Regions from separate parts of the Homo sapiens genome. Here regions 1, 3 and 4 are each linked to region 2. The links are contacts of gene promoters, found by promoter capture Hi-C in blood cells and fetal thymus (Javierre and others, 2016). All regions are on one chromosome and are shown on one strand. Each heading gives the region's core, a stretch centred on a gene start or on the middle of the fragment in contact. The rest is flanking DNA. Distances are from core to core; before and after follow the strand shown.

The links. Contacts are between HindIII fragments. The CHiCAGO score rates a contact against its expected background, and 5 or more counts as called.
Region 1: a contact is called between the fragment with the promoter of MRPL21 here and the fragment with the promoter of MYEOV in region 2, in 3 of 17 cell types (monocytes, activated CD4 T cells and M0 macrophages). The highest score is 7.5, in monocytes.
Region 3: a fragment that was not itself captured here is called in contact with the fragment with the promoter of MYEOV in region 2 in 1 of 17 cell types (activated CD4 T cells); the score reaches 5.5 in activated CD4 T cells.
Region 4: a fragment that was not itself captured here is called in contact with the fragment with the promoter of MYEOV in region 2 in 8 of 17 cell types (M1 macrophages, M0 macrophages, endothelial precursors and 5 more); the score reaches 11.7 in M1 macrophages.

The regions. Positions count from the first base shown.
Region 1 is chr11:68,899,946-68,905,949 of GRCh38, forward strand. It overlaps MRPL21 (mitochondrial ribosomal protein L21), which reads right to left and starts at 3,887. Exons shown (of 7, transcript NM_181514.2): 1 at 3,778-3,887; 2 at 603-660. The coding sequence starts at 3,865. It overlaps IGHMBP2 (immunoglobulin mu DNA binding protein 2), which reads left to right and starts at 3,946. Exons shown (of 15, transcript NM_002180.3): 1 at 3,946-4,093. The coding sequence starts at 4,008. RefSeq lists enhancers at 3,760-4,487, 3,919-4,038, 4,369-4,428. The HindIII fragment of the contact is 5,018 bases long and covers 1-4,342 here.
Region 2 is chr11:69,289,355-69,295,404 of GRCh38, forward strand. MYEOV (myeloma overexpressed) reads left to right here and starts at 4,801. Exons shown (of 3, transcript NM_001293291.2): 1 at 4,801-5,222; 2 at 5,879-6,050. The coding sequence starts at 6,001. RefSeq lists an enhancer at 3,372-3,923. The HindIII fragment of the contact is 5,042 bases long and covers 3,330-6,050 here.
Region 3 is chr11:69,556,955-69,563,700 of GRCh38, forward strand. No RefSeq gene overlaps it. Among named protein-coding and RNA genes, the nearest start is that of LINC01488, 79 kb to the left of the region's middle. RefSeq lists an enhancer at 3,599-3,743 and a cis regulatory region at 3,671. The HindIII fragment of the contact is 2,981 bases long and covers 1,392-4,372 here.
Region 4 is chr11:69,655,089-69,661,577 of GRCh38, forward strand. LOC124902704 reads right to left here and starts at 2,827. Exons shown (of 1, transcript XM_047427985.1): 1 at 2,110-2,827. The coding sequence starts at 2,827. The coding sequence ends at 2,123. RefSeq lists enhancers at 1-779, 2,659-3,386, 5,766-6,266, 6,267-6,489. The HindIII fragment of the contact is 180 bases long and covers 3,898-4,077 here.

The DNA.
Region 1 (6,004 bases), core at 2,637-5,136, 390 kb before region 2:
GCCTGGCGTCCCAGGCTGTGAGGGGCAGCCGGAACTGCACCCCGGGGGGGTCCCTACAGTAACTGCTATCCCTGCACTGCTCCTGTGTCTCCCACCAGTGAGTGGAACTTTGTCGAATGTTTTCTGCAGTTTATGATACCTAAAAATGTTTTCTCAAGTATAAAATTTTAACACTGAATGTGCTTTTTCAAATAATGAGTTTCTCTTAGAGACTCTGATACAAACTTCCTCATCAGAAATCTTGAGTTAAGACTTCAAGCTCCTCCATAATAAAAGAGAGCAAACACATACAGAATTTCTCTTTGGTCTCTTGCAGTTACGTCTTCTTTTAAGGGTCTCAGAAAAATACCGTCAAAAAAGTTAAAGCTGAAAGTGGTGGTGCATGCCTGTAATCCCAGCTACTCAGGAGGCTGAGGCGGGAGGACCACTTTAGGCCAGGAGTTCAAAACCAGTCTGGGAAACATAGTGAAACTCTGTCTCTTAAAAACAAAAGAGGAAATTTAAATATTATTGAGAACCAAAAGGTAGGAAGTTTTGACTTTAGAAAGATGGTTCTACAAATGAAAGGAAAAGAGGCACCAAAACCCACATTTTGATATTACCCTGGTAGATATGAAGTGCTCTGTGAATTGAACCTTCGAGAAGCAGACCAAAGGGAGGCTGAGGGAAGAAGAGAAACACAGATCATTACCATTAATACTACAAATGCAAACTGCCCTTTATGATGCTAAATGCACAGCTGCTGCTCCTGGTACATGGTATGAACCACTGCATGACAGCCTGCCCACAGAAACACCTAGGTGAGCAAAACTACAAGAACGTCACTTACAGCTACTGGTTATATGTGTTGAGATCAGTTAGCCACATCATCTACAAGCGCCTGAGACCAGAACCACCCGTCCACTAACTCATGCCTTGACTAAGTGCCTGGTAGGTTCAGACTCTGATCTGTGCCCAAGCGTGGGAGCAGCCTCCAAGATGGCCCTGCTGGGCCCCGCCTCCTGCTATTCTTACCCCTGTTAGCCCCCTGGGAGTGGCCTGTGTGTCCAACAGCTAGTGACAGACATGCTAGCACGTGGCTTCTGGGATGAGGTGATAACCAACTGGGACTTCCATCTTGGATGCCTGTGCTCACCCTTTCTGATCTCTGGCCTTAGGGCTGCCCTGCTGTGAGCAGCCCTACCTAGAGGTCCACATGGCGGGGAACTAGGCCTATCGCCAACACCCATGGGAACGACCTTGCAGGTAGATTCTCCAGCCGCTGGCGCAGTGGAGTCTTGAGATAACTACAGCCCCTGCAGACTTGCTTGCTGCAAGCTAAGACCCTGAGCCAGAACCAGCCACTTAAGCTGCTTCTGTGTTCCTGGCTCTCAGAACTGGTGTGAGTTAATAAATGTTTTAAGCTGCTAAGTTTTGGGGTAATTTCTGATGTAACCGTAGATAACGCATACACCAGGAATACACCAGGAAACAAAGACATTCAATCTACTGAGAAGACAGGGGATCAAAATAAGTGCTTAGGTGTAAAAAGCAGAGAACAGTTTCTCAATAACCACTTTTAAAGAAACTCAGCTATAATTTACACACCATAAAAACCACCTTTTTAAAGTTCACCCATTAGCACCAGCTCCCCATTTGCATCTCCTCGGCTGCTTTCTCCTCTCCTCTCCCATTTGGGCATCCGGGGCTCAACCCTTGGCCTTGACCTCCTCTCCGCCCATGGCCATTCCTCTGGTGACTGCATCCAGTCCGATGGATTTAAACACCCCCAATGTGCTGGTGACTCCCAAGTTTACACCTCCAGCCAGGGCTTCTCTCCTGGTTTTGCATACCCACCTATCTATCTGCCTTAGCCACTCGTGTCTGACGAGCACCTCACACCTCCAGAGGCTCCTCATTTCTTCCCATGCCTGCTTCTCCCACACTCCTCCCTCTCACATGAGGGCAACTTCATCCTCCCAGTTGCTCAGGCCCCAAACCTCCATCAGTTTTGACTCTTCTCTCGCACACTACTCAGTCAACCCATTGGCAAATCCATCCCACTATTAAAAACTTAGCAGGCTTCTGTACCTAATTTGCTTCTAGCTTTGTTTTTGGGTCCCCAGGGAACAAACAGTCTCCTTCCTCTCCCACAGGATTTCCTTTAGGTAGTCCTAGAGACTGTGACTGTGTACTTCCATCACGTCTCCTTTGCTCACTCTTCAAGGCCCCAGCTGCTCACTGTTTTGGTCACCTTGTCTCTACTCGCTTCACTGTGTGTCTTTCTCTCCTAATGCGTGAGTCTGTACTTGAACATAGCATTGGAGGGGTGGTTTCATGTAGGTAGGTAGAATGGAGTAAGTCCCACTGCTTTTGTAAAAACTTTCCTGCCTACTTAAACCTAAGTTTTATTATGGAAAATGTCAAGCATACAAAAGTAAAGAGAACAGAATAGTGAACTCTCTCAATTATCCCTTTCCAGGTTCAACAGTTACCAACTCATGGCCAATTTTGGCATCTACATTGCCTCTGGCCCAACTCTGTGATTATTATTAATTTCTTAATAGACTTTATTTTTTAGCACAGTTTTAGTTTCACACCAAAATTGAGTGGAAGGTACAGAGAGTTCCCATATGTCCCCTGTCCATGTGCCCACAGCTTCCTATCAACATCCCTCACCAGAGTGGTACAATCTTTACAATTGATGAACCTACATTGACACATCATTGTTATCCAAAGTCCATAGTCTACATTAGGGGTTCACCCTTGGTAGTGTACATTCTATGGATTTGGACAAACTTATAATGACATGTATCTACCATTATATCATACAGAATAGTTTCACTGCCCTAAAAATCCTCTGAGCTCCACCTATTTATCCTTTTCTCCCCCAATCCTCTTACCCCCCATGTAACTTTTTACTGTCTCCTTAGATTTGCCTTTTCCAGAATGTCATAGTGGGAAACATACAAGATGTCCCCTTTTCAGGTTGGCTTCTTTTACTTAGTAACATGTATGTAAGTTTCCTCCATGTCTCTTCATGACTCATTTCTTTTTATTGCTGCATAATATTCTACTGTATGGATGTCCTACAGTTTATGTAACCATTCATCTCCTGAAGGACATCTGGGTTGCTTCCAAGTTTTGGGAATTATGGTACTATTCTTTTAATATCGTCCAATATAGAGTTAGATCCAGTTTTCCATTTTTGGGGGTCATGGTGAGACATGAAACCCAGGTTTAAAACATACATAAACACTCATGCACACAAATACACACTCCAACCATTTTCAAGCAGAGATTTATAGAGTTTTTAACGGACATAACCTTTTTGGAGCCTCGTATCAGCCCAGCGCCTTAAATACGGCTGTTTCTTTTGCAGAATGAGTTCAGATTAGGCGAGGATATCCATCACCATTTTTCAGACCAGCTCGCAGCCTGGGGGCAGTGGTTCAAGCACAGGCTTTGGAGCCGAAATGACTGCGCCTGAAGTACTCTTCTTCCACTTCCCCGCTGTGTGACCCTGGGCACGTTACCTAGCTCCTCTGAGCCTCACTCTTCTCCCCCATAACATAGGGCCTATACCAAAGTTCAAGGGCTATTGTCAGTATTCAGGCTACTAACTGAAGGAATCAAAATCTGAACCTGGGTTCCCCCGACTCCAAAACCCGTGCTATATTCACCACAAATGCGATCAACACACAAGGCACCAGGTCGGACCCAGGCACATACGTGGCGAGACCGCAGGGAGCAGCGCTCGCTCTGCGTCCTCCCTTCCTCCCATATCCCAGGTCTCACCTGCTCCGGGCCCCGAAGGTCTCAGGATGCTGTGGCTGCACGCGGACGCCAGCCGCCCTAAGGTGACCGTCAGGGAAGATGCTGCCATGGCCGCAGCCTCGGCCGGAAACGGAAACGACGCGAACCGCGTGCGTAACGCACGGGCCCGGCGGGGAACACCGGTCCGCTGTAACACCGGCCCGGCGCAGAAGCGGGACGTCGGCTTCTAGGGGCCCAGGCCGGCGGCGGCGATGGCCTCGGCAGCTGTGGAGAGCTTCGTGACCAAGCAACTGGACCTGCTGGAGCTTGAGAGAGACGCGGAGGTGGAGGAGCGCAGGTACGGGAGGCCGCCGGCGCCGCTCCCTCGCGGTCGGTCCCGCCGTGTCCCGGGCAGAGTCTCCGAGGGGCTCGGCCTCATAGTCTGGGGCGGGAATTTCGTCTCCGACCCTTCGAGTCAGGGGCAGGGATCGTCCGTCCCCTGCTTGGCCACCTCCCGAGTTGTCAGTCTCATCACTTCCTGGGCAGCGCGTTCCGTTTGGGGACCCTTAAGAAGCACTTTGATTTCCCGACCCGAGACCCCCCACTAAGCTTACACTCCTGGGCCCTGGCCCCGACCCCAGTTCCACCCGCAGCGAGTTAGCAGCCCTTTCCCTTATTCATTCAGTAAACATGGTTTGCGCCCATTCTCAGTCAGGCCCCGGCAGCATGAGTCAGGTGCACTGGCTGCCCCCGATCCGGCCAGCGGCGGGCTGGGCATAAGCAGAGAGTCCCTTCCCCTCCAGTGCGTCCAGGGCCGGCTGCGTGCGTGTCGCGGGGAAAGAGCCTGGAGGAGGAAGGCCCTTCCCTGGGGAGGGTCATGGTGGCTTCAAGGAGGGAGTGGTGCCTGAAGGAAAATTGGAGTTAAGCTGGTGGGTGCGGAGTAGGGTGGGGAGCCGTCCTGAGAGGTGTGGGGAGCCATGTGAGAGCCGGGCTTGTTTCCGAATGGGACTATTTACTTGTCCAAAACAATCAGAGCTAACACTTACGTACTTTCCATGCGTTAATTCTTTTACACCTCATCCCATGCCAACCCTACAGTGTAAGTTTCTTTTTTTTCTTTTTCTTTTTTTTTTTTTTAGACAGAGTCTCTCTCTGTCGCCCAGGCTGGAGTGCAGTGGCACGATCTCGGCTTACTGCAGCTTCCATCTCCCGGGTTCAAGCGATTCTCCTGCCTCAGCCTCCTGAGTGGCTGGGACTACAGGCGCGCCACCACGTCCTGCTAATTTTTTGTATTTTTAGTAGAGACAGGGTTTCACCATGTTGGCCAGGATGGTCTCGATCTCCTGACCTCGTGGTCTGCCCGCCTTGGCCTCCCAAAGTGTTGGGATTACAGGCGTGAGCCACCGTGCCCGGCCGCAGTGTAGGTTTCTGTTACTGTCATTTTCCGTCTAAGGAGATGGAGACAGAGAGGGGTTAAGTAACTTGCCCCGGGGTGACACAGTGTAGCCCGATTTGCTGTCAGGCAGTCTGCTTCCAGAGTTTGCAGTCAGCCATATGTGGGTAGGATTTGTCTGAGATGCTTTTGATCATGGCAATGGAGAGCTTTTGCAGTTATGTTGAGTTTCTTAGAATCCCAGCTGTTTCATTTATGGCTGTGTGACTTTGCAGGTTCTGTCTCTGAGCCTTACTTACTTCATCTGTAAAACTGGGATGATTCCCACCTCACAGGCTTGCTCTGAGAATGAAACGATCCCCTGTCAGTCAGGTGCTCAGCGTGGTGCCAAGGACAGAGTCAGCCCCCATGGCAGTGGCTCTTTCTGAGGATGCTGAGCAGACTGGCAGGGCGAGCCTGGGAAGGGCCTGGCTAAGGAGCTAGTCTTCTGTTCTGTGTATGAAGGATGGGCCATCAGCGGGGTTAAGCAGGTGAGGGAGGCGAATAGCTTTGCATTTTAGGAGGATTTCTTGGGTCTCCTGCTTTTGATTGGACGTGGAGAGGCCAGAGGTAAGGTAGTTGAGAGGCTCTGTTTAGTCCAGGTGAGCAGTGATGTGGATTTGAACCGGGGCTGTGGCAGCCAGGATGAGAGGCAGAGAAGTCCAGGTAGAAATGGGAGGGGCCTGATAGGACTTAGTGACAGATGGGAGGAGAGAGGGGAATGCTGATTGAAAGATCTGTCTCAGGTAACTGAGAGAAGGGTTGTGGCATTAACTGCCCTAGGGGGATGTAGGAGGAGCGGGATTGGGAGTGGAGCCAATTCGGAGTTCCATTGGG
Region 2 (6,050 bases), core at 3,551-6,050:
GTGTGTGATAATCATAACACAATGTCGAGATCAGCATCTGATCACCACCCAGGGCTTCTTAAACACGTACTCTGTGCCAGGCACTGAGCTACGCACTTTTTAATGAATCACTTAGTTCACTCTCTCACTCACAACTTGCTGGCATCCATCTTGCTTTACTGTTGGGGAACGGGAGGCCCAGAGAGGTGGTGCAAGGCAGTGATTTGAACCAAGGCCTCCCTCTTGCTCTCCACAGCTCATGCTCTCACTGTGGCACCTGCTAATTCTGCAGCACCCAAGCAGGTCTGGGTGGAGAGGCAACCGGCTCCCCTGCCCCCATCCCAGGAGGAACCCAAGCCTCAGGAACCTCCTGAGGAAAGGCCCCACTGGCCATGACCTTCAAAGATCCCCCGGAGACCACCTGCAGGCATACCCGTATTAGTTATCTATCGGCATAACAAATCGCCACCAACTCAATAGCTTACCACAACCCCAGTTGCAAGTTCAAAGTGCTGCAGGTCAGACATCCAGGCACTGCTTTGTGGGTCTTCTGCTCGTGGTCTCACGTGGTGAAAATCAGGGTGTCAGGCAGACTGGGCTCCTTCTGGGGGATCTGGGGAGGAGTCTGCATCCACGCTTATCCGGGTTGTTGGCCGAATGCAGTTGCTTGCAGGTGCAGCTGTAGGATTGACGTCCCTGTTTCCTGCTGACTGTTGGCTGGGGCCACTCTCAGCTCCCTTGGCTGCCCACATTCCTTGCCATGTGGTCCCCTTCATTTTCCAAATCAGCAGTGGTTCTCATCGTCCAATTCCCGACTTCCACTTTGAGGACCAGATGGAGAAAACACCCTACTTGTAAAAGGCTCATGTGATGAGGTCAGGCCCATTAGGTTAGTGTCCCTTTCTCAAAATGAACAAGTCAACAGTGCCATCAAACACAATCCTATCATAGAGTGTTCATCATATTCACAGGGGCAGGGACTATGTAGGGCATGTATACCAGAGGTGTGGGTCTGGGGACCATCATAGAATTCTGCCTCCCACAATTTTAAAAATTAATTCAGCATCAGTTCTTACTTTTCCCAAGAAGATCGCACCATATTGGGCTGGGGTGGGGCATGGAGAGGGCCACTGGCTTCACATAGCCTTGGTTCAGAATCCTGGCTCTGATCTCCAACGGCTTATGGCCTTGAAGAGGCAGCATGACTGTTCTGGGCCTCAGTTTACTCATCTGTAAAATGGAGTGAGGGCCACTGGCAGGGCAGCTGGAAGGTTAAATGGGATCATGCAGGTAGAAATTTTGGTAGAACCTGACCCTTGGGGCCTGGGCAATAGATGATGCAGCTGTGCATGGTTTTTTAGAACAACCCAGGCTTCTGTTTTGTTTGAAGTAGGGTGGGACCAATGAAAAGCATGTTTTTAGGCTCAAACACATCTGAGTCCACATCAGGAATCTTTCAGAGTCCAACTGTGGCCAGCGAGGCCCTGAGTACTGGACAGGAGACATGCCTTGTGCTGACCAGTGCCCACATGCTGGTGGCTGCAACCTGGGCTGGCTGCTCACCAGTTGCTCACAGGCAGAAGGGTCAGGGCCAAGCCTGATCCCTCAGAGCAGGAGAGTTGGGCATGGAGTTGTGGCAGGTGGAACATCATATGCCCACGCCATTGGAGCTGTGGTCCCTCCTTGGCAGTGCTCTGAGGGAAACTGGCATCCCTGTGCCCCTCCCTTTAGAGTCTTTGGCTTCCTCATTGTGTCTTACTGCGAAAGAGCAGTCAGACTGATATGGATGATGGGAGGAGCTGCCCTTTGGCTCAGAGGAGGAGTGTCAGAGAAGGGGTCACAAAGACAGCTCTGTAGGCTGAGCCAAAAGCAGTATAGGGTAATGTTAGGAGCAGGTCTTGGTGCAACTGCCTGGGTGCCCCTAGGTTCCACTGCTAACTTGCTATGTGACTGAGCCACTGTACACTTTAGTTTCCTCCTCTGTAAAATGGGGATAACAGTAGTCCTAGCCATAAAGTTGTCATGAGGATTAAATGAAATAGTGTGGGAAAACTACTGACATGTGGTGCATGTTCAGTACAAGTTATCCTCACCATTATCATCATCACCACCATCATCATCATCATCACCAGCATCATCATCATTACCGTCATCACCATTACCATCATCACCATCATCATCATTACCATCATCACCATCATCACCATCACCATCACCATCATTATCACCACCATCATCACCATCACCATCATCATCACCACCATCATCACCATCATCACCAACATTATCATCAGACCACCATCATCACCATCATTACCACCACCATCATCATCATTATCATCTTCACCATCATGATCACCATCATCATAACCACCATCATCACCATCATCACCACCACCATCATCACCATTATCATCCTCACCATGTTCACCATCATCATCATCACTATCACCACCACCACCATCATCACCATTATCATCCTCACCATCATCACCACCATCATCACCACTTTCATCACCATCACCGTCATCACCATCATTATCACCACCATCATCACCATCACCGTCATCACCATCATCACCACCATCATCATCACCATTATCATCCTTACCATCATCACCATCACCATCACCACCATCATCACCATTATCATCACCATCATCAACGCCATCATTATCACCATCATCACTATCATCACCATCACCATCACCATCACCAACTCATCATGATTTAACAGGTGGGCTGGCAATCTGAATGTTGAAGACAGAGGGAGAAAATCAACCTGGGGCAGTCAGATTTCTACAGTCCTCCCCAGCAGGACCCAGGTGGGCTACTGGGAGTCCCAGAAGCAGATATCAGCCCAAAAGATGAGCTTTGATAATTAGAGTGAGGCTATGGTGAGACTGAGTGACACTGCGGGGTGCCAAAATAATCTAGGGTTGTTGGAATGCTGACAGCAGACAAAAGTAAGATAAGGTATCTCCTGACACCACCTCCTTCCATCTGCTCTCAGACGGGGCTCTTTGGAGAGGATCTGCCAGGAAGAACTGAGGTCTTATGCCACCTCCACCTCTACGTAACCTCAAACAGGCGTCATCTTGTCTCCTGGCCTCAGTTTCCTCATCTGTAAAACGGGGACACATCAGGATCTGCCCTCAGCAAGTTGCTGAGTGCCTGCCCTGAGCAGCCGGTAGGTGGCGCTGATGGGCTGGTGGTTGGGTTGGGGGAGGCTCGCATAGGGTCTCTGGAGGTCCCAGTAGGGCACTGGGGAGACCTCCCCTGATTCCCTGGAGGCAGAGCAGAGCTCTTGTCTTTGCAGGAGCTGCAGATTCTGCCTTGGGTATCTTAGAAGCTTTGTACAGGCATCTCCAGCTCAGTGGGAACCAAATGCCATCCTATCTCCCCACCTCACTGGTGTCACCATCTTCCTGGGAGCTGTCTGGATAACCCTCTCCCTGGCCCTCACCTTTAATTTGTCCCTGAGTCCCATCAGGGTCACCCTCCATCCCACTGCCATCTTCCTGGGAGCTGTCTGGATAACCCTCTCCCTGGCCCTCACCTTTAATTTGTCCCTGAGTCCTATCAATCAGGGTCACCCTCCATCCCACCACCATCTCCCACCTGAGTGAGAATGGGAACCTCCTCTCCCACTCCCTCCAATTCCCCTCCACTACAGCTGGGGGAGGCTTCTAAAATGCCAAATATAGCCCAGTTTCTGCAACTTGCAGGGTCCCCAGCCCTCGGGAGAAAGTCCAAACCCCTGACAAAGCCTGTGAAGCCCCCTGAGGCCCTGTGGGTCTGGGGCTAGCTCTGGGCTGCAGCCCTGTCTCTGGTCATAGTCCAGCATCCACCACGGTCCAGGTGCACTGAGCTGCCGGCCCTCTCTCCCCTCCGCTGGCTCCTTCCTCCTGACTGCCCGTCTTTCCCTGGCCTCTCTATGCTTCCCGCTGGCATTGACGACAGTGTCCTGGAGAGCTGGGCAGGGAGGGCTGCCTTGGGTTCCTACTGTGTGCTCCACCTAGTGCTGGTCTTGGCCCTTAGCAAGTGCTCAGTACACCCGTGTGGAATTGGGCGGTGAGGGTAAAGGGAGGAGGAGGGAAGGGCCAAGAGCTCCCTGTGCTCAATGAAGAGAGGGACTTGAGCAAGTACTCATTTTTAGTACTTCCCAAGATGTGTACAAGAGGCCTGGGGCCAGCAGAACTCCTTGCCCCTGCCCATCCCCCTCCAGTCTATGGGGTCCACCCCCAGCTGCCCAGCTGTGAGGCCTCCATGGCTCAGCTCCTCATCTATTAAGTGAGGACAGCAGTCGTCCCCCTCACAGCGAGGCCACGTGGGTTACATAACTTTTTCTTAGGGTGCCTGGCCTGCAAGAAACCCCTAAGAATGTTCTATATTCCTAGGCCCACTGTTATTCTTAATATTACCCAGGAAAGGGTGGTGAAGCGAGTAAATAAATGAATAGGTGAATGAATAAATGAATGAATGAATGGCACCCTAGCCCCACTGTCTTCTGGGTGGCTTCAGGATCCTTGAGGAGGTTGGCCGTGTAGGTTCCCCTCAGGTAGGACCTAGGTGAGCTGGGGAGTCTTAACTCACCCAGGGCAGGCCTTAAGGTTGGGCACACCCATGTGTGGGCTCTGCCCTGGCCTTAACCGAGAGAGGGAAATGTTGACGGGGAAGAAAGCCCTGCCCACCAGGCAGCCCCACCCACCTGGGCTAGCCCCACTCACAAGCAGCCCCACCCACCTGGGTTAGTCCCACCCACCAGGCAGCTCCGCCTACCTTGGCTATCCCCCTCTGAGTTCTTGCCTTGATTCTCCTGTTACTGTCCCGCGAACCCACATCCCTACAAAGCAGGAAAGTATGCTTGGGAGAGGCCAAGTGAGTGGGGAATCAGCCCAAAGCCAGGCGTCCAGGGTCTCCCTCACCTGAAGCTGACTTTTTCCCCACCTTGGACAGAGGGCGGGAGATGCCATCCCCACTGAACCCAGTGCTTTCACCAGCCATATTAGCTCCCACTCACCCCCCGTCGTGGAAGCCTCGGCCGTCACACCTGCAGGGCCGGGGCGTGCATGGCCTCAGGGATGGCCTGTTCAGCTGCTGGGTGACTCGGGTCCAGGTGCCTCACCACCTGCTGAGCTCTGTGTGATTTCTGGACACTTCTGCTCGTTGCCTTTGGGCTCAGTGAAGAGTCTGGAGTTTATCTGGAGTGAGGTGGCCGGTTCTTGGTGGGATCTGAGCAGGTAAGAAGCAGGGTCTTTCTTATGTTTTAAGGAAAGCCCTGTGGCTGCTGGGTGGGGGACCAGCTGGAGGGGCAGGAGGGCAGCAGGTGACTCATTACAAGGCTGGGGCCATCATCCTGTGAGAGCTGGGCATGACCAGTGCAGGTCAGTGGGGTTGAGGGTACAGACCAGTGGGACCCACAGACGGCTCGGGAGTGACCAAGCCTCTGCTGAGCTGCCCAGGTCCCCTCTGGTGGACACCTCCTACCCGGAGCCCCCCAAGGTGGTGCCAAAGCTAGACCACCATACAGCCAGAGGCCTCCAGGCCCTACCCACGACAGCCCAGCTGGCTTCTGCCCAGCCACCGTCACACACAGAGGGCAGCCGTCCCCATGGTCCCTAGAGGCGGTTGAGGACCACTGTGCCTGGAGTCATCTGTGGCTATAAACCAGGAGGAGAAGGCTGCCCACCCCCTGCCCCAGAGATGGGGAGGCTGGGGCCACCCGGTGGATTTGGGCAGGTCCCAGCTTCCAGGATCATGAGGTGAAAACGTGAAGGGACCCTAGAGGCCATGGGGACCCAGGCACAGAGCGGCGGCCTCTCATCCTCCCCATGGTCAAGGAGGTCAGTGCCTTCCCGGGGTGGATTACGGATGGTAGTATCTTCCTTCTCCTCAGAGTCCATTCAGGAGCAGGAAAGTTCATCTCAGACCCTAAATCCAGCCACGTCATGCCACGCTTAACACCTCTAACAACTTCCCCTGGCACTTAGGACAGCGTCTGGCTCCTTCCCTCGGCTCATGGCCCTCAGAATCTGCGTCACATACACCCCAGCTCTCCCGATAGGTCT
Region 3 (6,746 bases), core at 1,632-4,131, 270 kb after region 2:
CTTGGACCCTAGAGCCTCGAAATCCCCTCCGCCTTTGGCCTGGGGTCTTTGTTCAGTTGTATTGCTATAAAGGAATACTTGAGGCTGGGTAATTGCTAAGAAAAGAGGTTCATTTGGCTCATGGTTCTGCAGGCTGTACAGGAATCATGGTGCTGGCATCTGCTTCTGGTGAGGCCTCAGGAAGCTTCCACTCACCTTGGCAGAAGGCAATGGGAAGCTGGCGAGAGAGGAAGGAAGAGAGAGCAGAGGGCCCAGATCTTCAACCATCAGTTCTCACACAAACTAATAGTGAGAACTCACTCATTACCAGGAGAACGCACCAAGTCATTCATGAAGGATTCGCCTCCATGACCCAAACAACTCCCACCAGGACCCTCCTCCAAGCTTGGGGGTCTAATTCCAACATGGGATTTGGAGAAGACATGGGAACTGTACCCAAAACATGGCAGCTGGATGCTTCTGAACACACTGACGGTGGCTGCTACCAAGAGGGAGAGCGAAGTCACAACAATACCGGCCTGCAGGTTCACCTCCCCATACCAGGCACTTTACAGCACCATTTCCAATTCCCGGGAAACAGGGCCACAAACATAGGAGGCAAGACTCCATTCCAGGTCCGTCTGCTCTGAGGCCTCCATTCCCTCCTCTATATGGGGGGTTTAGTTTCCCACCTTACTTAAAGCCTGTCTGCACTAAGTAAACTCAGTGAGAAAGGCAGGGTGCCCAGTGCCTGGGTACAGCAAAGGCTAAATGCATTTGGCAGTTATTGCTAGTATCATTTTTTGTTTTGTTTTGCTTTTTATGAGATAGACTCTTGTTCTGTCACCCAGGCTGGCGTTCAGTGGCACGATCTTGGCTCAGTGCAACCTCTGCCTCCTGGGCTCAAGCTGTTCTCCTGCCTCAGCCTCCCGAATAGCTGGGATTACAGGCGCATGCCACCACACCTGGCTAATTTTTGTATTTTTAGTAGAAATGGGGTTTCTCCATGTTGGCCAGGCTGGTCTAGAACTCCTGACCTCAAGTGATCCACCTGCCGCGGCCTCCCAAAGTTCTGGGATTATAGGCGTCAGCCACCACGCCCAATCTGTATCATTATTCGGTGATTATTTTGGGTGCGGTTTGGGACTTGCAGCATAATATAATTTTTCTCATTGATTTTTACATGTATCACAGCACCACTGCTTTCCCACCATAACCTTGGGCAAGTCCCCTCACCCCTCTCTGCCTCAGTTTCCCGTCTGTGAAATGTCCCTAATGCAAGCCCCCATCCCAGAGGGCTGCTGAGCTGATTAAATCAGCTACTACATGGAAAACTCCCAGGAGAGCGTTCGGCAGAAAGAAGATGTTTTGATAAATGTTGGCTATTCTTAGTATCTACACCATGTAAAGTAAGCTTACGAGTCTAACTGGGCAGCGGTCTTAGCTTGTTCATTCACTCTGTGCCAGTGTAACTCATTCCCTAGGCCTCCTTAAGGACAAACCAGGCACGCTTGGATGCGTTAGTCTGAGATCCTTTGGCCACCTGTCTCCTGTGGGGTCCAGGAAAGGGCCCCATATGAACCAGCTGCATCTGGTGGATAGAGGCACCCCAAACACTGCTTTCACCACTGTCATCGAGCGCTTTCTTGTTTGGTCTCGTAGGTTCAGTGGAAATCTCTGACTTTTTCCTCCCACATTCTGCTCCTTGCCTATGTCTTAGAAATAACAACCCATTCTCAAACTAGAAAGAAGCTAAGGCCACGTGGGCCTTTTCTTGTTGTTTCACGTGGGTGAAACAACACCCCGAACCCAACAAAGCGCTCTCTTTTCTTTCTCTGATTTTCCTTCCGCTCCCACAGCCTCTCCCACCACCACATCTGTCGGTTATCTGTCACATCACATCCTGTAAGTATGAGGATGCTTTTTGATCTACCGGTTACATGATAAGAATAAAGACTTTCCTAAAGCGACTTTATGTGGTGCCGTTAAAAGAACACAAACCTAGGCTCACACATAATGCCACATCTGGGAAATGACGGCTCTGGGGTTTCTCTGCCTCCCGGGTCCCTCTCAGATCAGCCCTGGATGCTGAGCGTCAGGGGTTGTGGGGGCGAGGGGAAGGGATGGGGAATGTGCCTATTTCTATGAAAAATTGAGTAAAAGAAGACTCAGTTCTCCAGTGCTGCAATGAAGTGTGCAAATGCCAGCCTCGGCCAGCAGACCTCCATCCGTGTACCTAAAGGCTTATTTTAAGTAGCTGTGTCTGGTCAAAAAGGGTTCACCTGGTCAGGAAGTGGTCACAGGCTTTTTAGGAGGGCCAAGCCAACACATAAAGGGAAGATAGAGGCACACATAGCAGCCTCAGAGCCCCGGCTCTTTGTCATTCCTGGGTCCAAGGCGAGGACCCTTCACTGGAGAAAGAGCCCTGGGGCTGAAGGGGCCTTGGAATCTGCAGCTGAGATGGGCCAGACAGATAGCCCTGGGTTCCCACAAAGGAAGTTCCTGCTCAATAAGGCTCTCCCAGCGACTCATATGCTGTTCTCAGAGGTCCTGCCCCACACTCCCCTAAAATGGGCAAAAAGAGGCCATGCACCCATAAAGAGATCCTGCGTTTTCCTGTTTTCTCTTCAAATGCTCTTGCTCTGCGTTTTTTCTCTCTTTTATTCAGATGATAATCACATATGACATAAAATTTACCATTTTAAAGTGAAAAATTACTGTCTAGTCCCAAACCATTTTATCACCCTCTCCAGAAACATCCATTCATTAGCAATCACACACCCTACCCCCAGCCTGGAGGCCACCAATCTACTCTCCGTCTCCATAGATTGGCCTGGTCTGGACATTTCAGAGAAATAGGATTGTACAATATGTGGTCTTTTGTGTCTAACTTTTCTTTCTTTATTTATTTTTTGAGACATGTCATGCTCTGTTGCCCAGGCTGGAGTGCAGTGTCGTGATCTCTGCTCACTGCAGCCTCTGCCTCCCAAGTTCAAGCAATTCTCCTGCCTCGGCCTCCCTAGTAGCTGGGATTACAGGTGTGTGCCACCACACCCAGCTAAGTTTTGTATTTTTTGTAGAGATGGGGTTTCACCATGTTGCCCAGGCTGGTATCGAACTCCTGAGCTCAAGTGATTTGCCTACCTTAGCCTCCCAAAGTGCTAGGATTACAGGCATGAGCCACCATGCCTGGCCTAAAAAATGTATATCTTAATTTTAAAATATTGCCAAAAAGTGCTAACAATCACCTGAACGCTCAGCGGGTTGTCATCTTTTTGCTGGTGGAAGGTCTTGCCTCGATGTTGATGGCTGCTGGCTGATCAGGGTGGTGGTTGCTGAAGGCTGGGGTGGCTGTGGCAATTTGTAAAAATAAGATAACAATGAAGTTGGCTACCTTGATGATTGACTCTTCCTTTCAGGAAAGATTTTTCTGTAGAATGCAATGCTGTTAGACAGCATTTTAGCCACAGTGGAAATTCTTTCAAAATTGGAGTCTGCTCCAATTTTATCCACTCAATTTATCCACTCAATTTATGGAATATTCTAAATCCTGTGTTGTCATTTCAACAGTGGGCATAGACTTTTCACTAGGAGTAAATTCCATCTCGATAAATCACTTTCTCTGCTCACCCACAAGAAGCAACTCCTCACTCATTCAAATTTTCTCATAAGATTGCAGGAACCCAGTCCCTTCTTCAGGCTCCACCTCTAATTCTAATTCTCACTATATCCACCACATCTGCAGTGACTTCCTCCACTGAAGCCTTGAAATCCTCAAAGTCAACAATGAGGGTTGGAATCAAACTTCTAAACTCCTGCTAGTATTGATGTTTTCACCTTCTCTCATGAATCATGAGTGTTCTTAATGGCATCTGGAATGATGAATCCTTTCCAGAAGGTTTTTAATTTACTTTGCCCAGATCCATCAGAGGAATCGCTATCTAAGGCAGCAATAGTCCTGTGAGACACATTAGATGTTTCTTAAATAATAAGATTTGAAAGTTGAAATGACTCCTTTATCTGTGGGCTACAGGATGGATGTTATGCTTTCCGGTATGATTACATTAATGTCAACATTATCTCCTTGCACGTCTCTACCAGAGCACATGATTCAATGACCAGGTGCATTGTCAATGAACAGTAATATTTTGAATGGAATATTTTTTCTGAGCAGTAAGTTCTCAACAGTAGCCTTAAAATATTCAGCAAACCATGTTGTAAACAGATATGCTGTCATCCAGGCTTTGTTATTCCATTTATAGAGCATAGGCAGAGTAGATTTAGCATAATTGTTACGGGTCCTAGAATTTTTAGAATGGCAAGTGAGTGTAGGATTCAATTTAAAGTCATCAGCTGCATTAGCCTCTAACAAGAGTGTAAGCCTGTCCTTTGAAGCTTTGACTTCTCCTTCTCTAGCTGTGAAAGTCCTCGATGCCATCTTCTACTAGAAAGCTGTTTTGTCTACATTGAAAACCTGATCTTTAGTGTAGCCACCTTCATCAATGGTCTCAGCTAGATCATCTGGATAACTTGCTGCAGCTTCTCCGTCAGCACTTGCTGCTTCACCTTGCACTTCTATTTTATGGAAATGGCTTCTTTCCTTAACCTCATGTACAACCTCCGCTAGTTTCCTTCTTTTTTTCTGCAGCTTCCTCACATCTCTCAGCCTTCATAGAATTGAAAGCTGGGTGTGGTGGCTCGCGCCTGTAATCCCAGCACTTTGGGAGGCCAAGGTGGGTGGATTGCTTGAACTCAGGAGTTCAAGACCAGCATGGGCAACATGGTGAAACATCATCTCTACAAAAAACACAAAAATTAGCCAAGTGTGGTGGCACAAGGCTGCCACCACTCCTGGGAGGCTGAGGTGGGAGGATCACTTGAGTCTGGGAGGCAGAGGTTGCAGTGAGTCAAGATCAAGCCACTGTGTTGCCACTGTTACTCCAGCCTGGGTAACAGAGCCAGACTCTATCTCAAAAAATAATGATAATAAATTAAAATAAATTAAATTTAAAAAAAGAAGAATTGAAGAGAGTTAGGGTCTTGCCTTGGGTTAGGCTTTGGCTTAAGGGAATGTTGTGCCTGGTTTGATCTATCCAGAACACTCAAACATTCTCCAGATCAGCAATAAGGCTGGTCCACTTTCTTATCATTCATGTGTCCACTGCAGAAGCACTTTTAATTTCCTTCAAGAACTTCTCCTTTGCATTCACAACTTGGCTAACTGGTGTAAGAGGCCTCGTTTTCTGCCTAGCTCAGCTTTCAACCTGCCTTCCCCTCCAAGTTTTATCATTTCTAAACTTTGATTTAAAGTGAGAGGTACACAACTCTTCCTTTCGCCTGAACACTTACAGGCCATGATAAGTTTCAAATATCACGATAATTTCCAAAATGTGACACGGATATACAAAGTGAGCACATGCTGTTGGGAAAATTGCACCAATAGACTTGCTGTACTCAGAGTGGCAAACCTTCAATTTATACGAAACACAACATCTGTGAAGCACAATAAAGTGAAGTACAATAAAATGAGGTATGCTTGTATCAGTGTCTCATTTCTTTTTCATGGCTGAATAATATTCCATCCTATGGACAGAACACATTTTGTTGATCTGCTCATCCACTGGTGGACGTTTGTGCTGTTCCCACCTTTTGGCTGCTGTAAACAGTGCTGCTGTGGACATTTGTGTACATGTGTTATTTCAACACCAGTTTTAAGCTCTTTCAGGCATATACCTAGGAGTGGAACTGCTGGTCACATGGTCATTCCATGTTTTGCTCTGCTATGTTTTTGTTTTTTCCTCTTTTGGCTCCATTTTCCCAAAACCTCAAGATGTTTCTTCCTCAGTGAGGTATCTTGACATGCACTCATTGGGGTCTAGTTGCATTATTTAGACCTCTTTGGGGATCCACCTATACCCTGAGGATGCTGGAGCTACTATTCCTAAAAAGGAAACCCCAGTTCCCCTCCCGGGTCAAGGGCAGGGCTGTGGCCGGTGGGGGGGCCCTTTGTACCTTTCAGTGCTGTTGCCTCTTGGATTCTGTGCCTTTGCTGTCAGGGGTCAGGTCGGGGCTGGGGAGGGTCTCCCTTCTCGCAGGACCCACTGCCTTCATGGATCATGACCCAGGACAGTCACCAGTGCCACCCATTCAGGGTCTGTTGCTGTGGTCCCTCTGAGTCAAGAGCCTCTGGAGTCACTGGGAACCTCCCAGCCAAATCAAGACTGCCCCTGCATCCTCTGGGGGCCTTGTCCACATGCTGACTTTGTTACCCAGGACATGAAGAGAACTCGGAACATCCAAAGACCTAGAGTCCATGGGCCTAACCATACTTTTTCTCCAAAGAATGGGACCTGTGCTGACAAAGGAGCCCAGTTACAAAGGGAAAGAAATGGGGGGCCAGGCGTGACCCCTGAAAGGCCTCTGTGTCATCATGGCAGCTCCCAGGATTGCAGAGGAGGGAAGCAAATGAAACTTCATCCTCAATGTCTATCTCCTGACACACCAGCCATGGCCCTGGGATTTGAAATGCAAAGGAGGTTCCGGAGTAGTGAGGCTGGGATCTGGGTGTTTGGAGCAGGGACCTGGCTGGGAGTTTGGGCAAAGGCCCGCCCCATATTGCAATGGCCAGAGGGACCAACAAGAGGGGAGCAGCAATTGATAAATAAGTTAGCAAATGCAAAAAGCCCAACAGTCACCTTCATCTGTAGCAAATATTTACGACCCTTTGCTCTGTGCAAGATGCTGTGCTAAGAACTCCACCTACATTG
Region 4 (6,489 bases), core at 2,738-5,237, 360 kb after region 2:
CATGATCCGGGGTGGCCTTTCACTGGGATCGTGGGGACCTGGAGGCCGCCTTATAGGACACCCATGACGCCCACCTCTGGATTTCAGGTGCACGTGACTGGACTTAACTTCAAACCCCAGGGTGGAGGCAGGTAGTGGGAGTGCCCTGGGAAGGTGTCCTCGGACCTTGGTCACTGCTCCTGAACCCATCTGTGAGGCTGGTTTGTCCTCATCCCAAGCTAAGTGGAAGCTCAGGTCCCAAGCCACCGATGGGTGCTACTTGTCAGCTGCAGGTTGAATCTCCGTGGCCTTTATGAAGCACCTGCTGTCTACCCTTCCTGCCTTGTAGAGCACTCCTCCCAGGGCTCAACAGTGGGGCCGGGGTGGTCGGTGTGTTGGCTCCACAGGCGCCTGCCCTGGGAGGAAGGTGGGGTGTGGAGGGAAACGCTTGGCCCCTGTAGGTCTCCACCAGCCTCTCCCCTGAGGGTGGGGGCTCCGGGAGCCTTCCTCGAGGGAGTCCTATATTGAGTGGGTGGGGGAGCCTGCAAGGTGCCCCTGACAGGTCACATCAGAAAGAGCTCAAGGGACAGTCGGAGCCAGAGGTGACACTGGTGGCCACTCGGGTGGCTCACAAGGCCCAGCTCCTCCTTGCTCCTGGGCAAATTACTCTGAAGGCAGGGACCAGGTCTGCACCATTGCGGCTCTCCAGTTCCAGGCAATGGCCAGGTCCTGTGTCAGGGCTGGGGTCCTAGGGAAGCCATGTCCCCACCCCCGGCCTGCAGCTGGGTTTACATTCATCCCCCGAGAGCACATGGGTGTAGCAGGAGGCCTGTGCAGAGAGCTCCGACCATCGCACAGGGCACCTTTGGTTGTTTCACGGAGCAGGCAAGGGAGCCATCGGATCCTGTTAGGTTTGAGCAAGGATGTGGGGAAGAAGCTGGAGAGCCACTTTGCCATGCAGGGAGAGGAGCACATGGGTCTAGGGATCTACTTTAGTGTTTGGAAGGTTTTTTAAGATGAAAGAGGGATGTGTAGGCTGATAGGTCTGGCAGAGCCAAAAGGCAGCGACATGTCTACTGGGAGAGATGGAGCTGAGCGCGGGGCTCAGGCAGGGTGGCAGGGCAGGGCCGGGGCCCTGGGTGGGTCAGGTGGGTTCACAGCCAAGTGTGTAGAGAGGGCTTGGGCCCAGAGTGAAGCAGTTGCAAGCTCTCCCACAACCCATTCTCTCTGTCTCGGCATCTGTGGCATCCCGTGATGGGTGGGTCTGTACACACCCCACCCCTGGCTGTGCCACAATGGGGGTGTCTGTACACCCCTCACCCCTGGCTGTGCCACGATGGGGGGGTCTGTACACCCCCCATCCCTGGCTGTGCCACGATGGGGGGTTCTGTACATCCCCCAGTGATGGGTGGGTCTATACATCGTGGTTATGCCACGAGCTCCAAGGCTGTATCAGTCCGTTTTCACACTGCTAACAAAGACATACCCGAGACTGGGTAATTTATAAAGAAAAAGAGGTTTAATAGACTCACAGTTCTACGTAGCTGGGAGGCCTCACCATCACGGCGGAAGGCGAAAGGCCCGTCTTCCATGGCAGCAGGCAAGAGAGAATGAGACTCAAGTGAAAGGGGAAACCCCTATAAAACCATCAGATCTGCTGAGACTTGTTCACCACCATGGGAACAGTATAGGGGAAACTGCCCCATGATTCAATCACCTCCCACCGGGTCCCTCCCACAACACGTGGGAATTATGGGAGCTACAATTCAAGATGAGATTTGGGTGGGGACACAGCCAAACCATATCAAAGGCATCGTCTGGCCACTCTAGGCCCTTGTTCCCAACTCTCAAACTCCACTGACATCACCTCTGTGCCTGCAACCCCTCCTGGGATTCAGTGGAGACCTCGTCCCTTGTTGGAGTATCTGCGCTACCCAGAGGGTGATGGTAAAAACTGACCTTTGAGGAACTTCAGAGACAAAGCCTTCCGCAGTCAGCTCTCCCTGCAGCCCCTTCGCAGAAGCCTGTCCTCACACGCCCGCCACCCCTACCTGCCCTGCCTCCTGGCCCATCTCCCTGCAGCCAGACAGTCCTCATCCATTCTTCATCCTCTGCCCCCAACCCCCAGCCTTCCTATCTCCCTTCAGCTCCGTCCAAGGTCCCTGGGACTCAGCCCCATCTCTCCCCAGCCTTGACCCCAATAAGCTCGATGTCTTTGCCCAGGAGCTCCTGACACACCAGACTGCATCCAGCTTCCTGTTCTGCGCTTGGCCCACCGCCTCGGTCCACAGGAACCTTCATCTCTGCTCTGACTGTAAGGATGGGCTCTCTGAGGGCTTCCCCACCCCACAGCAGGCAGGTGGTTCTGGGAGTCTGGGATTGTCATGCCTGGGCACCTTCCTGCTCTGGCTGAGCCCCTCCAGGACGGAAATCTCCCAGATTTCTCTCTGCCTCCGTCTCCCCACCCTGGCATACAGTGGGTCCTAGGAAGGGGGCCGAATGGAAGGGAGGTCGTGTCGGCTCCTACAGGGCAGCCCCAAGCTGCTGGGCTGAGGTGCAGAGCCATGGGTCCAGCCTGACCCGCATGCCGGGAGCTGATTCCATGGCTGGAAGGGTCGGGGGTTCCCCAGGAGCCCAGACAGCACCTAGAGTTGTCACAAGGAGTGAAAGGCCCTGAGGGGACAGAGGAAGGAGGCTGGGCAGAGTGGGCACGTGGACTTCGGACCGCGCTTGTGGGATAACAGTGGCTAGGGCTGTGCAGAGGGTGGTGCACTGCCCATGGGAGTCCAGAGAAGCCAGGTCCAGTGGCAGTGGCATGCATCCGGCAATCCCTCCGGCTACCCTGCATGCAGCGTGACCCTCCTTGAAGCACCCCAGGAAGCAGTCACAGCCTCGCTCTGCCCAGCATTGGGGGCCTGGCCTCTGAATCTGGTGGGGAAGGCTGTGTTGCCTGCTGGCACCCGCTCTATCACCAGTCCCACCATAAGGCTAGTCCCCAAAGTCAGCACTGCAGCCAGGGCCAGCGAGGGCCAGCAAGGGCAGGCCTGTGCAGGGGCTGCAGCGTGGGGTGTGCGTCCCGCACTCTGGGCCAGCCTCGCAGCTCACAGGGCTCTGTCATCCCAGGAATGTCTTTGATCAAGAGTTTATGCAAGACGAGGAAAGCAAGCCCAGGACCTCTAATCCGTTCCCACAGTCCCCTGCCCGCCAGGGCCCCACAAGCCCAGCGCCACACCGCCAGGCCTGAGCAGACAATAGCAGGCGGACGGGTGGGCGGGCAGCTCTGGGGCCGCTGGCCTTGGGGCCCACATCCGGGAGCATTGTCACCGCCACTCACGAGGGCACACAAGGAGGGCTGGGGAAGAGAGAATGCAGAGCCCTCTGCTGAAGGGGCTTCGGTGGGCCTTGAGCCTTTCAAAGACGGCGGTGTCCATTAATCCTTTTAATTTGCACCTAGCGGCAGCTGAGACAAGCCTCTCAACCGGCAGCCACTTTAAGAGCTGAGTGGTCTAACCCGAGGATCAGCTCCTATTCCAGACCCTGGGCCCTCTGAGCCTGTCGAGGCAGTCCTCCTTGCCTTTGTTTAATCACGGGAGGAATCGCAGCTGGAGGTTACTGAGCACGCACTGTGTGCCTTGTGCTCAACACCGAACACAGTTTCTCTCTGAGTTTTGCAACGACCCCATGGGTTGGTGACAGGGAGGGGACACTCTGGTGGCAGCCACAGACACAGCCCTGCCCTCCCAGAGCCTACACTCTCCCGCACACAATCATCCCATCTGCTAGGTCAGGGATTGGCAGGTTTTCTGGAAAGGGCCACAGAGAGAGGCTTCAGGCTTTGTGGGCCACAGGTTCTCTTGCCCTGTGCAAAAGCAGCTGCAGCCGCTCTGTGAATGAGTGAGCATGGCTGTGTGCCAATAAAGCTTTATTTACAAAAATAGGCAGCAGACTGGATTCAGGCTGAGGGTGGTAGTTTGCCGACCCCTGTTGTAGATGAGTAAACCGAGGCCCAGAGAGGTAAAGTAACTGAGCCAGGACTGCACAGCTAGTGTGTGACCAAGCCAGCCTGGTGGGTCAGCCTCATGGAGAAGAAAAGGCTCAAGCTTCAAAAAGGGAAATGCACGGAGGCTTCATTGGGCCATTTGCAGCCAGGCCCCACGCACACAGCTCAGGGCCCTGCTTCGCCAGCTCCACCTGTTTCGAGGCTCCCAGTAGGTTGCCCCTGCGGGCGGCACTGTGTCTTGGCTGCTGGCCTGGAGAAGGGCAGCCAAACAGGCCGGCAGTGGACATCTGAGGGTGACCAGCTGTTTAAAAAGAAAACTCACCGGCATGTATAGGCACACATTAAGCACACACGTTTTGGAGTAAAAGGCCCTGGGGTTGGATCTCGGATCTGCAGCTTTCCAGCTGTGCGGCCTCATTTCTCTGGGCCTCAATGTTCACACCTATAACATGGGGAAATCCTGCAAGAACACAGCCCATGATGGGGAGTCGTCTCCATCTCCTACTCACGACAACGACCAGCACAGAACGGGGGCTCCATAAATCTCTGTCAATAACTGAATTCTTTCTGGGGTGCTGAGGATTCTATGGCTCAATGTGTGTGAAGCACTGCTGAGCACCGAGCTTGGGGTGCAGTGATCACTCAGGGAACGCCATCATCCCCTCGGCGCATCCGCATAATCACCATCAGCATTCCATGCACTGCCCAGGTCTGGAAGCACAGGCCTCCATGCCACGGCGGCCGCCTGGGTGGTGGCACCAAAGCCGATCTTACTTCCCTCCTTTGGCACATTAAGTAGACAGTTCTGGGTCTTCTTGACACCACGGATGCCCCCTCCTGGTGTTGACAGCACCCAGACTTTGCTCCAGGGAACCACCATTCCCAGATCTGTGGTTTGAGTGGGACCGAACCCATCCCCAGCTCCAGGCCAGGTCTTCATAGGCTGAAACCCAACTGCACATCCACACCCACCAGAAGAGCAGCAAGTTAATGGATGGGTGAGAAATCAAATAGAGCCATTGAGTCTTGAGGAGACATTTTCTGGAGCTTCTGAAAAAGATAATGCTTCCCCCTTCCTTAGGATTCCCAGCAGGGAAACACAAGCCCAGGGGTGGCACTGCCCCCCTGCAGCCCTAAGGGAAGACTGAGCTGCTCCCAGGACCTCACAGGGGAGGCTGAGCGTAAGGCCAGCCCTGAGGGAAAGCAGGGAATGGGTCTCCAGACAAACTGCTGGATCAAGCCTCTCCTGAAGTCATCCCCCTTTTGTTCCAGAAGCCAATCATTGTCCTTCATTAAGTCAGTTTGATATGGGCACTGTGTCATTTGGTTTTCAAAGACACTTAACTATTACAGCTTGTGTGTGTTTTCTTTTTTTTTTTTTGAGACGGAGTCTCACTCTCGCCCAGGCTGGAGTGCAGTGGCCTGCTCTCGGCTCACTGCAAGCTCTGCCTCCCGGATTCACGCCATTCTCCTGCCTCAGCCTCTCGAGTAGCTGGGACTACAGGCGCCCGCTACCACGCCCAGCTAATTATTTGTATTTTAGTAGAGACCGGGTTTCACCGTGTTAGCCAGGATGGTCTCGATCTCCTGACCTCGTGATCCACCCGCCTCGGCGTCCCAAAGTGCTAGGATTACAGGCGTGAGCCACCGCACCCGGCCGCTTGTGTGTGTTTTCTACCTCTTCTAGATCTAACATGTTATGATTGATATAAACAACAGGAGCGACTGACAAAGTTACCATGTGATCTTGGAATTTCAACATGCCTGTCTTGCTTAGCTGGGAGTTCCACAGGGTCAGGGAATGACTCCTCTTGGGGCCACCAGTGCCCAGAAGTATGCCTAGAACTGCTCTGTCTGAAGGGACAGGTCCCTCTTCCATGGCACACACTCTGTGTGTAACAGAGCACACGTGTGACCAAACTGACCTGGAGAAAGGGCCTGACCACATCCATATCCCAAGTTCTGAGGCCGGATAGTGCCTGCAGGGGCTGAGACCAGGGGAGAGGCTCAAGCCAGCCTTCTCTGGTGGACCCTGACTCAGTCCTCTGTGCAGGGCAGCTGCGCCTCCCAGAAGGCAGAGGCCTCTTGGAGAGTGAGCCTTGCGGTCACAGCGCCTTTCGGGGGCTCCCGCCACTTGCCCTCAGTGGCGGCTGAGACCTGGGGGAGTCCAGGCAAATCCCTGAGGAGGCCCCACATGCAAGGCCAGAAGTGTCTGGATGGTGTGGCCGGCACCCTTACCCTCCAGACCAGCAAACGAAGCCCAGGCAGGGAGAGGGGCCTTGTAGTTTTCTGTGGCTGCTGTAATGAATTTTCACACACTCAGCAGCTTAAAACAACCAACATTTCTCTCATAGTTCCAGAGGCCAGCAGTGTCTGCAGTGCCCGCTCTCTCCCAGCTTCTGGTGGTTTCGGGCGACCTTCGGCTCTTCTCAGCTGGTCCATGCGCAGCTCCAAACTCGGCCTCTGTCCTCACAGGGCTATCGGCCCCATGTCTTCACGTGGCAGTCTCT